Linked DNA regions of Homo sapiens: region 1 is linked to region 2. The links are contacts of gene promoters, found by promoter capture Hi-C in blood cells and fetal thymus (Javierre and others, 2016). All regions are on one chromosome and are shown on one strand. The core of a region is centred on a gene start or on the middle of the fragment in contact, and the rest is flanking DNA. Distances in the headings are between cores, read along the strand shown.

The links. The method cuts DNA at HindIII sites, captures the fragments that hold promoters and counts their contacts. A CHiCAGO score of 5 or more calls a contact.
Region 1: a contact is called between a fragment that was not itself captured here and the fragment with the promoter of HS1BP3 in region 2, in 2 of 17 cell types (neutrophils and total CD8 T cells). The highest score is 6.1, in neutrophils.

Annotation. Positions count from the first base shown.
Region 1 is chr2:19,970,141-19,975,665 of GRCh38, reverse strand. It overlaps WDR35 (WD repeat domain 35), which reads left to right. Exons shown (of 27, transcript NM_020779.4): 6 at 3-136; 7 at 1,033-1,198; 8 at 1,958-2,103. Among named protein-coding and RNA genes, the nearest start is that of WDR35, 17 kb to the left of the region's middle. The HindIII fragment of the contact is 1,882 bases long and covers 908-2,789 here.
Region 2 is chr2:20,647,388-20,653,763 of GRCh38, reverse strand. HS1BP3 (HCLS1 binding protein 3) reads left to right here and starts at 2,666. Exons shown (of 7, transcript NM_022460.4): 1 at 2,666-2,732. The coding sequence starts at 2,701. LOC105373466 (a long non-coding RNA gene) reads right to left here and starts at 2,482. Exons shown (of 2, transcript XR_001739320.2): 1 at 2,412-2,482; 2 at 1,564-1,789. RefSeq lists enhancers at 2,248-2,985, 3,070-3,219, 3,240-3,319 and a silencer at 2,400-2,989. The HindIII fragment of the contact is 7,312 bases long and covers 1-4,137 here.

The DNA of each region.
Region 1 (5,525 bases), core at 599-3,098, 680 kb after region 2:
AGGCAATCGTATTTGGGGAAAAGACCTGAAGGGTATACAGCTATCCCATGTAACATGGTCTGCGGACAGTAAAGTCTTACTTTTTGGAATGGCAAATGGGGAAATACACATTTACGATAATCAAGGAAATTTTATGGTAAGTAAGTGTATGCATCAGTCTTGTTTATACAATTTTATATGATTATCGTACATATCATTCATGTTTGTATATACATTTATTTTTTATGGCGGTTTGTGTAATTAAAGTCTTCAATTCAGATTTTTTTTCTTTTTCCCAATCGTCTAAATTTTGTTTTAATTAAATAAAATTTTGGTTTTCTCAAGGCAAATTAGTGCAACAAGTTCGAGTGTAGCTTTTAGTTCCAATTTTTTTTGGTAGGTAGAAAGGACGAGGTGTCAGTGCATTTAAGCAGAGAGATAATGAGTAGGGCGATGTGCAGTTTAAGTTTTATAGGTGTCTTCTGGTGTCTGAAGCCAAAGTTTACATGTAGATACCACAGGGTATTTTTGTAGCAAGCTACCAATGGTTGTTTGTAAAAAGAATGACAGACTTAAATGGTAAGTGAGAAAAATCAATCCCTGGAAAGAAGGTAAAATAGAATAGGATCAGGCAGCATAATCTGGAGAAAAATTCTGGCTTTGCAAGGTTTAGCTATCATAGATGTATGATTACTGGTGGGGCAGTTTTGTTTTTTAGCAAGGGTTAGGACATTAAGTAAATCCACTCACTGGTGGAAGTAAAATAATGAACTTTTATGTCATTTTGCTGTTTTCAAAGTACTTTTATATACTTGTTGTTTGAGTCTCATAAAAACTCAGTGTTTTTTAATCCTCATTTTTTACATGTGGGGAAAATGGACATTTAGGTGATTTGTCCATGGCCTGTATACCAGTAAGTGATTAAGCTTTAATTTGCCACCTGATTTTTAGACTGTATTTTTCAGTGTTCTTTCTACAATACTCTATTGAGTATTGTCTCTATACTGCTGTGTTTTAAAATGTAAAATATTAAACCTAACCAATTTTATTTAGATAAAAATGAAACTGAGTTGTTTGGTGAATGTCACTGGAGCTATCAGCATTGCTGGAATTCATTGGTACCATGGCACAGAAGGCTACGTGGAGCCTGATTGCCCTTGCCTTGCTGTTTGCTTTGATAATGGAAGATGCCAAATAATGAGACATGAGAATGACCAAAGTAAGGAATTTTTCTGTTTAAAAAATTTTTTTAATTTCTATTTTTTTTTTTTTCTTTTTGAGATGGAGTCTCACTCTGTCGCCCAGGCTGGAGTGCAGTGGCACGATCTTGGCTCACGGCAACTTCTGCCTCCCGGGTTCAAGCGAATTTCCTGCCTCAGCCTCCCGAGTAGCTGGGACTACAGGGCGTGCCACTATGCCTGGCTAATTTTTTATATTTTTCGTAGAGACGGGGTTTCACCCTGTTAGCCAGGATAGTCTCTATCTCCTGACCTCGTGATCCACCTGCCTCAGCCTCCCAAAGTGCTGGGATTACAGGCGTGAGCCACTGTGCCCGGCCTCAATTTCTAATTTTTAACTTTTTTTTTTTTGCGACAGGGTCTTGCTCTGTTGCCGAGGCTGGAGTGCAGTGGTGCGTTCTTGGCTCACTGCAGCCTTGGCCTCCCAGGCTCAAGGTCTCAGCCTCCTGAGGAGCTGGGACCACAGGTGTGCACCAACTCCTCCAGCTAATTTTTGTATTTTTCGTAGAGACAGGGTTTCACCATGTTGCCCAGGCCGATCTTGAACTCCTGGACTCAAGTGATCCGCCCGCCTCAGCCTCCTAAAGTGTTGGGATTATAGGCGTGAGCCGTTGTACCCAGCCCTGTTTTTTTAAAAATGTGGAAAGTTTTAAAAATGTTTAAAAGTTGTTCTTAAGATTATAAAGTTCTCTAGGCTACGTATTTTCCCACAGTGACCTCATTTTTCTCTTTCTGACTAGATCCCGTTTTGATTGACACTGGCATGTACGTAGTAGGCATCCAGTGGAACCACATGGGCAGCGTGTTAGCTGTGGCAGGCTTCCAGAAGGCAGCCATGCAGGACAAAGATGTGAACATTGTGCAGTTTTACACTCCGTTTGGTGAGGTAAATGCATTCAAATTGATCTTCTTTCTTTCTATTTAAATGTGCAGTGAGTAAGGTAGAGGAAAAAATAACAAAGGAAACGGTGTAAACTTATCACATTTTCTTTTAGGGACATTTCATCTTCATAGTATAAATCTTTGTTGTATTTTATCATGGAATTTTATAATCTTATAGTTTTATAATTATAAAATAAAAATTACAATTTTATACATTCAGAAAACCAGAAGTTTAACATAAGAAATCACCATGGAGTAGTTATTTTGAATATTTTCTCTGTGATCTGAATATGTGTCTCTTTTCATAGCCAGCTTTTGAGTAGTATTTAGTATAATATAGTTGTTTCAGATTAATTTTTCTGATTTTTAATGTGATATTTTAAATGTGTTTAGATGTTAAACATACATATCTGTCTGTCCTTCCTTCAAACTTCTAATACTTTTAATTTGTTGCAAAGTAATCAGTTATTTGAAGAAAATTTAATAATTAATCTTAGGTGATGCTACATTAAAATAAAAGCATTGTTTTCATAAATGTACATATGAGTATTATCCTTCTCAATAGTATTTTTAATAAATTTAATTTTAAAAGAATTTTCAGAAGTAGCATTGGAAAATGTCAAGTAGGAGAATTAATATATTGTGAATTTTAAAGAATTTAGAAAGTGAGAGCTTATTAATAACTAAGCTTAATACGTTTTTTGAATGTCTTATTTTCTAACCCAGTACTATATTTTGTCCCTTTTGAATACCCTGTTGGCTTTTATAAATTCGCCATAGACTACAGTGATATATATTTTTGGCTGCATAAAAGCCTATACCAGTTGTTTTAATGTTATTTTTATATATTTTAATAATTTCTTTTAGGGCAAGAAATGATGTCTTCTGATGCTTTTGAATCAGTATCTCAAAGTTACCCAGTAGAATATACTGTAGAACGTAGATGCTCTCTATACATTGTCAAACGACAATATTTCTCGTAGATGTAAAAGTGAAGGAAAAAAAAAAGCATAGTTTTCAAGGTTCCTAAATAATTAAAAATCTGCATTCTAATTATTTCTATATTTATAGCCTCCTTCTTAATTCTTGTTCTTTATTGGTTATTTTTGTTGGTTGCCATTTACTTATTTATCATAATGTTTTATCTGCTTATTTTTGTTAGTTCAGCCTTCCCCAGGTAGAAAAACATGGGTTCTAAAGTCTGTTTGTTTGTCTTGCAAAACAATGTGTTAAGTGTTAAACGGAAAACTGTAAGTGGGGTTTGGTTTAGCTGTAACTAAAAGTATCTAGCATAGTTCCTCAGGTCATAGTAGTCAGTATTTTCTGAGTGAGTGAATATATGGGGAATTATTTGGATCTGTGTTATTGTTAAGGTAGGAAAGATAACCTGGATGGAAGTTATCTAACAATTTAAACTTAATGATTTAAACTTAAGAAAACCTCAGAGAAGAATTTGCTTTTAAATTCTGAGGGCCAGGGGCTCCTGGGTTTTGCACTGTGGTCTTAGCCATGGTAGGAGATAACAGAGCATAGGGTTTGTAGTCAAGTTGATCTGGTATTGAATTCATTTTCCACAGTGTAGTTTGACGTAGAGAAGTTATTTAGCCTCTGAGACACAGTTTAGTTATTTTCAGAAATAAAGGAAATACGTCATGGTGCTGTTGTAAAGATTAAAGGAGATTACAATGAGGAAATGCCTACACAGTGCCTGGCATGTAATGAGGGCTTACTAAAAGGTGGTTTTCTTTCCTTGCTGCTGCCACATCCTGGCTGGTTTGCAGTTAGAAGATGGTCGTATTCTCCTCCTCTTATGGATGGGTCAATACCAAGAGTACTGTAGAGGGCTTGCTGGTTCACCTTTAATTTCATACAGGTAGCAAGACAGATAGATCAGACCCTCCTAGGTTAAAACTTTGAGTTTTTTTCTTCCATTGGTTTCCTTGGGAAAATGGAGCTCAATACATTTGTCTTACTCTATTATGTGCTGCTATGACAGAATACCACAGACTGCATAGTATATATTAACAGAAACTTATTGGCTCACAGTTCTGGAGAATGAGAAGTCCAGTATTGAGCTACTGACATCTGGTGAGGGCTTTTCTGCTGCATAATTTCATGGTGGAAGGAAGAAGGGCAAAGAGAGTGCAACAGAGAGACAAGAGGGGACCTAATTCCCCTTTGTATAATGGCAGTAGTCCCAGCCATGAGGGCCCTCATGCCCTGATCACTGCTTAAAGGTCTCATCTCTTAATACTGTCAAAATGGCAATTACATTTCAATGTGAGTTTTGGAGGGGACAGACATTCAAACTATAGTAACATTAAATTTGACCCTAGAGGGTATCTGCTTAGAACAAGGGATACCAGTAAAGTTCATTGAAATTTTGGGGATTCTATCATTCTGTCAAATAAAAGATATAGATTAAAAATGTTCGATTGCCTTATAGCCACATTAAAAAAGTGTTTGTATTCATTTATTCACTCGTTAATTTGGTCATAAAAAGTACTGTTTATTTATTTTAAATTTTAAATTAAAAAAATTTGAATGTATATTTATTGAAGATATATATTGACTATCAGTTTATCAAATAATCTATTAATGGAAAGGGAAAGAAATGTGAATATGATACAGTTAGTACTCTTAAGGAGCTCATTCTGTAATTCTCTGGAACCATAGAATGGGGGAAGAAGGCAGGACTCGTTGAGGAAGCAGTATTTGAGCTGTATCTTGATGGATGAATAGGCGTGCTCCAGGAGGACAAGGACCAGTAAGGATAGGGGAGCTGTGAGGAAAGAAGAGGGGGATTTCAGGCAGAAGGGATATTGTATAGGCCAAAGCTGTGGAGGCAGAGTAGTTCCTTCACGAGCAGGCACACAGCAGTTATGGCTAAATAGTGGGATATTAAGCCACATAATATGATTTTGGACAAGATGGGAAAAAGGCATTGTATGCCATGCTAAAGAATGTGATGGTGGGGATTTACTGATTTTTAAAAGTTATTAAACCTTTTAAAAAGCAGGGTAGGTTATGATTAGATCTGTGTTCCAGAAAGATAATTGTGACAGCAGAGTATAGATTGAATTGGGAGGGCAGAGGGGGAGAATAAGGAAACAGATGAAAAGTAAGATATAAAGTTAGGAAGCTATTACCACAATGCAGTCCATTAAAAAGGTAATTGTAGAGAGTGGAAAGGAGTAAAAGCAGTAGGACTTGGTGACTCGTTGGTTGTGAGGGGATGAAAGAGAAAGACAAGACTTTATGATTGAATTTGCTAATAAAATATTTCATTGATTCTAAGAAATATAATTTTTTACAACTTTAAAATGAGGAGGCATCTTATAATCAAAGTTGCCATATTTTAATTAGCAATGTGTTTTTTCCTTTCCTTAGTTGTACATAAAAATTCATGTTTCAGTCTATGGCATT
Region 2 (6,376 bases), core at 1,417-3,916:
GAGTGTTCCTCCCAGGGCAGTGAGAAAGAGAGAAATAGAAAATCCTTTGCAATGTGGTTTGTGTTACCGCAGCTTCAGCCATGGAAGGGGCTCCTTGAATTAAACAGGAAGCAGAAAATATCAGATTTAGATCCCACATTCCATGCATTGTATACAATTACGCGCTGGAGCCATAGAGGGGCACGTGGGACCCACAGAGGCAGAAAATGGGATTGCTGTTGGGAATGGGGTCGTTCTTTCATGGGAAACCAGTTGCATTCTTGACAGGTGGGCCGAGTCTTCCTGAGGTGCACACTTCACAACCCCAGGGGCACAGGTGAGGCCCTCTCATTTGCTTACAAGGCATTGGTGACAGACATGCTACCAGCTCCCACAATGATGGAGAGTCCCCTTCTCTGCAGCCCCCCAACACCGCTGCATATCTCTGGATTGTAGACCATCCTTGGTGGGCTCACCCCAACTCTCAGGCTCAACAGCCTCCTTTTTACCCATGACTCCTATGTCAGTCTCCAGCCCAGGTCGGCTTCCTGAGGCCCAGGGCCATAAACCCAATCGCATCAATAGGTCCAGCCCTTCAAACACTGCCTGTCTGAAACAGAACCCATCATCCTACCAAAAATATGCTCCTTCTCCAGGTGCCCTGCCACAGAGAATGATACCAATGTCCAGCCACTCACAAGAGCCAAACCATAGTGGTATCTTATCTCTTCCCGCCCACACCCATTGGATTCCCAAGTCTTGACCAACTCCTTCTCCTAAGGCCCTCTTACCCGTCCCCTCTTCTCCACCTGGGTGGCCATCACCCTAGTTCATGGGACCATTGTCTCTTGTCTGGATTGTTCTGCAGTCCAGCTCATCTTCATACCTTCAACATGCTCCAAAACCCTGCCCACGCCCTAGCTGGCCCAGCCACTCCTATGTCCCTGACCCTCTGATGGCGCTGTGTTGGCCTCAGGATCAGGCAAAGCCCTGGCCTTGGTGCACTAGGCTGTCCACACCCTGGCTCCTGCTGGCCTCTTCCCCCTGTTCCCTGGTGTTCCTATCCTGTCGCTAGGGCTTTGCACGTGACATTCCTTCTAATCTATTCTATCCATATTTCTTCAGGTTTTCCCTTGGACTTCAGCTCCTTTAGAAAGCCTTTCCAGACCCCCACCCACTCCCCATGTAGGAGGGCAAAGAAGTCCACTGAAGGCATCTAAAGTGTCTTATTCACTGTGTTTCTGTCTGTTGGATAAATGTGAGTGCAATGGTGACTGCTCGACTGCCTGGCACTACACTCAGACTCCTGGAATGCTGAAGCCTATACTGCTTTCTGTCCAGACCCTGAACTCCCTTTCTCTAAAGTAGGGCATGCCAATTTAAACAAAACACGGAGGACCATTTGCAGCCATGAACACGGCCCTGCAGACGGACAGGCCGATGAGCAGCAGAGCAGACAGGGGTTCCCGCCATCATCCCAGCTCTTCACTGCAGCCTTCAAGGGTCTCCCTCAGAACTTTCATTCATTGTCATACTTCATTCATGATTGCTCATCTTGCCTATAAACAAATCTGAGACAAATAATAAGGCATATCAATGTCCGTATTTATTCAAGAGATACATTGGGGAAAGTCATTTTTCAAAATCTTTTACTGTAGGATTTCTTCACTAAAATCTGTAAAAACTGGTAGATATTGTTGGTGATGCTGGTGGCGGTGGTTGATAGGCTCAGGAAACATGGCTGACATCGCCCTGCCGTGAATTCTGGTATAGTTAAGCCCAGCTTCTCTTTCTTTTTGTCACTGGGGCTCTGGGTGGAGGGAGTAACAGAACAGGGGCAGCAGTTTGCACCTTCTGCTGGCCCTGTTTGCAGACTCAGCTTTTCTTTCCCTGGGCTACGTTGGCAGGTGATACGATCTCTCTGTTCCTCACCCCATGGAGAGGTGAATCTAAAATGAGTGGGTCTGTTAGGGTCTGCATGTCTGTACGTTCCCCTTCTGAGGGGAACTGGCTCCTGGACCCCGTTGCCCTGCTCCAGCTGGGGACCCAAGTGCAGCCATCCCAGGCAGGCCCGGCCCCGGGAGGCCTCCACCAGGGCTCTGCCAAGCAGCAGAGGCTGCCTCTCTAAAGATCCCCTGTCGGGAGAGTGCCTGCCATTTATGGAGCGGGCAGGCAGTAGGAACCAGATAGGCGAGCTAGCTGGAGGCAGCAAGCTCAAGGGGACTGGGCTGCTGCGTGGCGTTCACTGTGCAGCTTGAAGAAGACCCCACGAAGCCTGGACAGAGCCCCAGCTTGGTAAATATTTGTTGACCGATCGGTTGAATGAAATGGTCTTGGGGCAGAGGGGGAGTGGTTTTGTAATGGGGACTGGCGGCGGAAACAGCAGAGTCCCGTCTCTCTAACGGCTAAACTTTAGCGCAAAACAGACACACCGATTAAGGTTCACCGTGTGCCAGGGCCAGGCTGGGCTTCTTCTAGGTGGTTGCGGCGGGCGCGGCTCAGCCTGGGTGCTCCGGAAGCTCCGAGCAGCGCAGGCCGACGGCGACCGTGCGGGACCCGCCCAGCCGCGCTTCCGCCCCGCCTCTGGCCACAGGCGCGAACTGCGCGGCCGCTGCCACCAGGGGGCAGGCCAGGGCAGCGGGAGGCAGGGCGGGGACGCGGTGACGCGGGCACTGCCGGGTCCCGTGACTGCGCGCCCCGCCCGGAGTCCCCGCCGCCGTCATGCAGTCCCCGGCGGTGCTCGTCACCTCCAGGTGAGCCAGACCCCCGCGCCCCACACCGCACAGCTCGCAGTCCGGGGCGCCCGGGCGGAGAGGCGGGGGGAGGCCGCCGCCTCCTAGGCCAGGGACCTGGTGCAGGTCTCCCCAGCGCCCTCGGTGGCTTATCCGGGCTGGGCCCCTGCACCGCCCTGCAGGAGAGGTGGCGACCCCGATTTACAGATGAGGAAACCGAGGCCCTCTGGAGGGTAGAGAACTAGCCAAGGACAGCGGGAGCCCTGGGACTGACTGGTTCAGTGCAGGCGGGCGCAGTGGGGACTCTGCTCTCCTTTCCTACCGCCTTGGGTTCTTCTCTTTTGAGCCCGAAAATCTAGTTCCCCATCCTTTCAGAGCTCCCTGAGTCCCAGGCCCGGTGCTGGGCACTGGGGACAGAGGCGAATCAGACAAGCTCGCCCTGCAGGGGGCTGCAGCGGAGAGGGGGTGATGCCAGCAGCGGGTAGTAAGCTCAGGTTGCCATGGGAACACAGTACAGGGCAGGAACCCGGTTTCTGGGAGGATGAGTTTGATGAGAGACCAGGGAGAGGTCGTTGCTGCTTGCGAGGCAGCTCAGGAGAGCGCAAGTTACAGCAAAAGCCTTGGAGGGGTCCAGGCGGAGGATGCAGAATGGGTCGGCCCTGATCGAGACCTGGAGGACCCAGCCCAAGGTGGATCCTGGCAAGGCTGGGAGGCACGTGCTTTTACTTCTTTCCGCCTTTAAAACGCTGTAAAGTGATTTACTTCAAATATTTTCATACACTTCACCCTTGCTCTCCCTACACAAAGTCTTAGGCTAAGATGCCAATTTATGACATAAATGAACGTGTTACCCAGCCAACTGTTGATCTTCCAGTTGTAATCAGGAATTCCCCGTGACTTCAGGTCTAGAAAGGTATGATTCCTTTTGTAAACCCTGATGTCGGAGGCTGCTTGGTCTTTCATGATCAAGTGTGGTTACAGTTGTATCTTCATGGGCAGAAGAGGTTTCCCTACTGCCACTTACGTCACCTCCTCTCACCAAGCCTCAGTTTCCTTTTCTGTGAATTGGAGGTTTCAGATTGGCAGGCATGAGCAACGTCAGTAGTATATGCCCCTCAGCCATGTGCAGATGGATGGGGTGTGACTTTGGTGCTGGGTGCTTGGGATGGGGTGGGTGGCTTCCCTCCCTGCCCCGCTGCACAGCCTGGACGTGGCTTGTTAACAGATGTGGGGGCGCTGGCGGTGGTAAGGCCACATGAGTCAGGCTCATTTCTTGCTGAGGGCACCAGCACACCCAAGGATCTTGCCTGCAGGGTGAGTCCAAACGCCTTAGCCCAGCAGCAAGGCCGGCCCTTCCCAGTCGCACCCCAGCTCCTCTTTCCAGCCCGATCTCCTCCCACATGTCATTGCCACATGCACTCAAGCTTGAATTCAGCCAGAAGGTGTTTATCGAGAGCCTTCTCTGTACCGGGTACTGGCCCTAGTTCTAGGAGACAAACAAGTCCCTCTCGTAGAGCTTTAATGAGGGCACAGGCCCAGTGGGCAAATCTACGACATGTCAGGGATGATACATGCTATGAAGGAAAACAAAACAGTGGGGGCAACAGAGTGGTAGGAGGCATGCATGCTGTTTTCTATGGTGTGGTAAAGAGGCATCTTTCTGATGGAGTGGCGCCTGGACAGATCCCGGACAAGCTCCATGAGGGAGAGAGCCATGAAAAAGAAATCTTGGAAAAGTGTGTACTGGGAGGACAGGACAGCAGGAGCCAGGGTCCCGAGGCTGGTATGCTGGAGTGGAGTGAGCCCAGGGAGAGTGTTAGGTGATGCGGTGAAGAGGCAAGCTTGGGAGTGAAGGATGATCAGGAAAGGCCGAGAAGGCTGTGGAGGGGCCATCAGATTTAATTTCAAGTGCAATAGGGCCCAACTTCTGGTTTATAGAGATCCTTTGGCTGCTATGCTGAGCATGGGCAGTGGCCGAGCTGAGCATTCAGGACAGGCTTGTAGGTTTCCATGTAGAGCCGGTGGTGGCTTGGCCCGGGGTGATGGCGGCCGTGAGGGTGAGAAATGTTTGGGTTCTCGATATATTTTGAAGATTGAGCTTTCAGGTTTGCTGATGCTTGGATATGGGGTGTGAGAACAAGAAGAGAAGTTAAGACTAACGGCAAGTCTCTCAGCCTAAGCTGCTGGAAGAATGAGGCTGCCCTTTAGCAGGCTTGGGGAGAGGTAGAAGCAGCATTTGTGTAGACAGGTGAGTTTTGAGAAGCTCGTTGACAGCCCAGTGGGGATGTCAGGCAGCTGCAGCTGGAAGGAGGCTGGCTGTGAGGGGAGAGTGAGCTAAAGATGGGAGTTGGGGAGCCATTGGCTCGGAAATGGTATTTAAAGCCTGGAGCCTGGATGAGATCACCTGGGGAGGGGTACAGTGAGAGGAAGAAGGAGGGTGCTCTGGATGCTATCAAGGGGAACCATCCAAAGCAGTTCCTCTCCTCCTGTTTGAGCAAGAGTGGCCAGGGTGGGCAGAGAAGAACCAAGAGTGAGGGGGTGCTCCAGCCACCAGTGAAGGCAGAGCTTGAAGGAGGGGAGTGGCTGACTGTGCCCACTGCTGCTGACAAGTCAGACCAGAGGAGAAATGAGGATTCACCTTTGGATTTAACCACATGGAGGTCGCAGATGACCTGGGCGTGGGCAGTTTGTTGCATGATGAGGACCAAAGTCTGGCTGGAAAGGGTTCAAGATCAAACAGGAGGAGAGGAACCCATGAATATGGGGCCCTCTGTTGAGGAGTTCTGCTGGAAAGGGCAGGAGGGAAACGGAGCAAGGGGAATGTCGGGTCAAAGCACAGCTTTTGTTACATGAGTGGTCAGAGCATGGTTGCATGCTAATAAGCGTGGGCCAGTAAGGAAGGAAAATCGATGGTGCGAAAAAGAGGGGTGAGCTGCAGCAGCTATGTCCTTCAGTAGGTGGGAGGGCCTCGGAGCCGCTGCCCTGGTAGAAGGTTGGCCTTAGGAGCAGCCAGCCAGTTTGTCTACAGTCCCAGGAGAGGGCAGCTATCAGGGAGCAGCTGCAGGCTGATGGGCAGATGTGACAGCGAAGCCTAGGATGTTCTCCGATGGTCTCTGGAGCAGTACACAGCAGTGTCCACATCACTTGGGAATTTGCTAGAGATGGTGAGGGCACACCCCGGGGCCTGCAGAACCAGAATCTGCATATTAACAGGATCCCCAGGGGGTTGCACGCACATTACAGTTGGAGAAGCTTGGTCTAGGGCACATCCTGCCCACCACACCCCCATTTGTTTATGTACTCTCCGTAGCAGCTGCAGCAGAGACCAGATACCCTACACAGCCTGAAATATTTGCTATCTGACCCTGTAGAGAAAGTTTTCCTATGGGTTCAGGGAAGTGGGAGGGTGATGGAGTAGGCCCAGGTGCATCAGACTCGTCGGAGGGCTTACTAAGAAAACAAGATGGCTGGCCACCCTAGGCCCGAACATGCCTTTCTTACAAGTTCCCAGGCGATGCTGATCCTGATCCAGGGACCACACTTTGAGAACCCCACATCTAGGGCAAGGTAGGGTTGCCAAGCCTGGTGTGGTGCTGTGCCTTCAAGTCTGCAGCCATGAATTTCAATGGGACCAGGCTGCATGTTTACACCATGTCTGTCCCCAG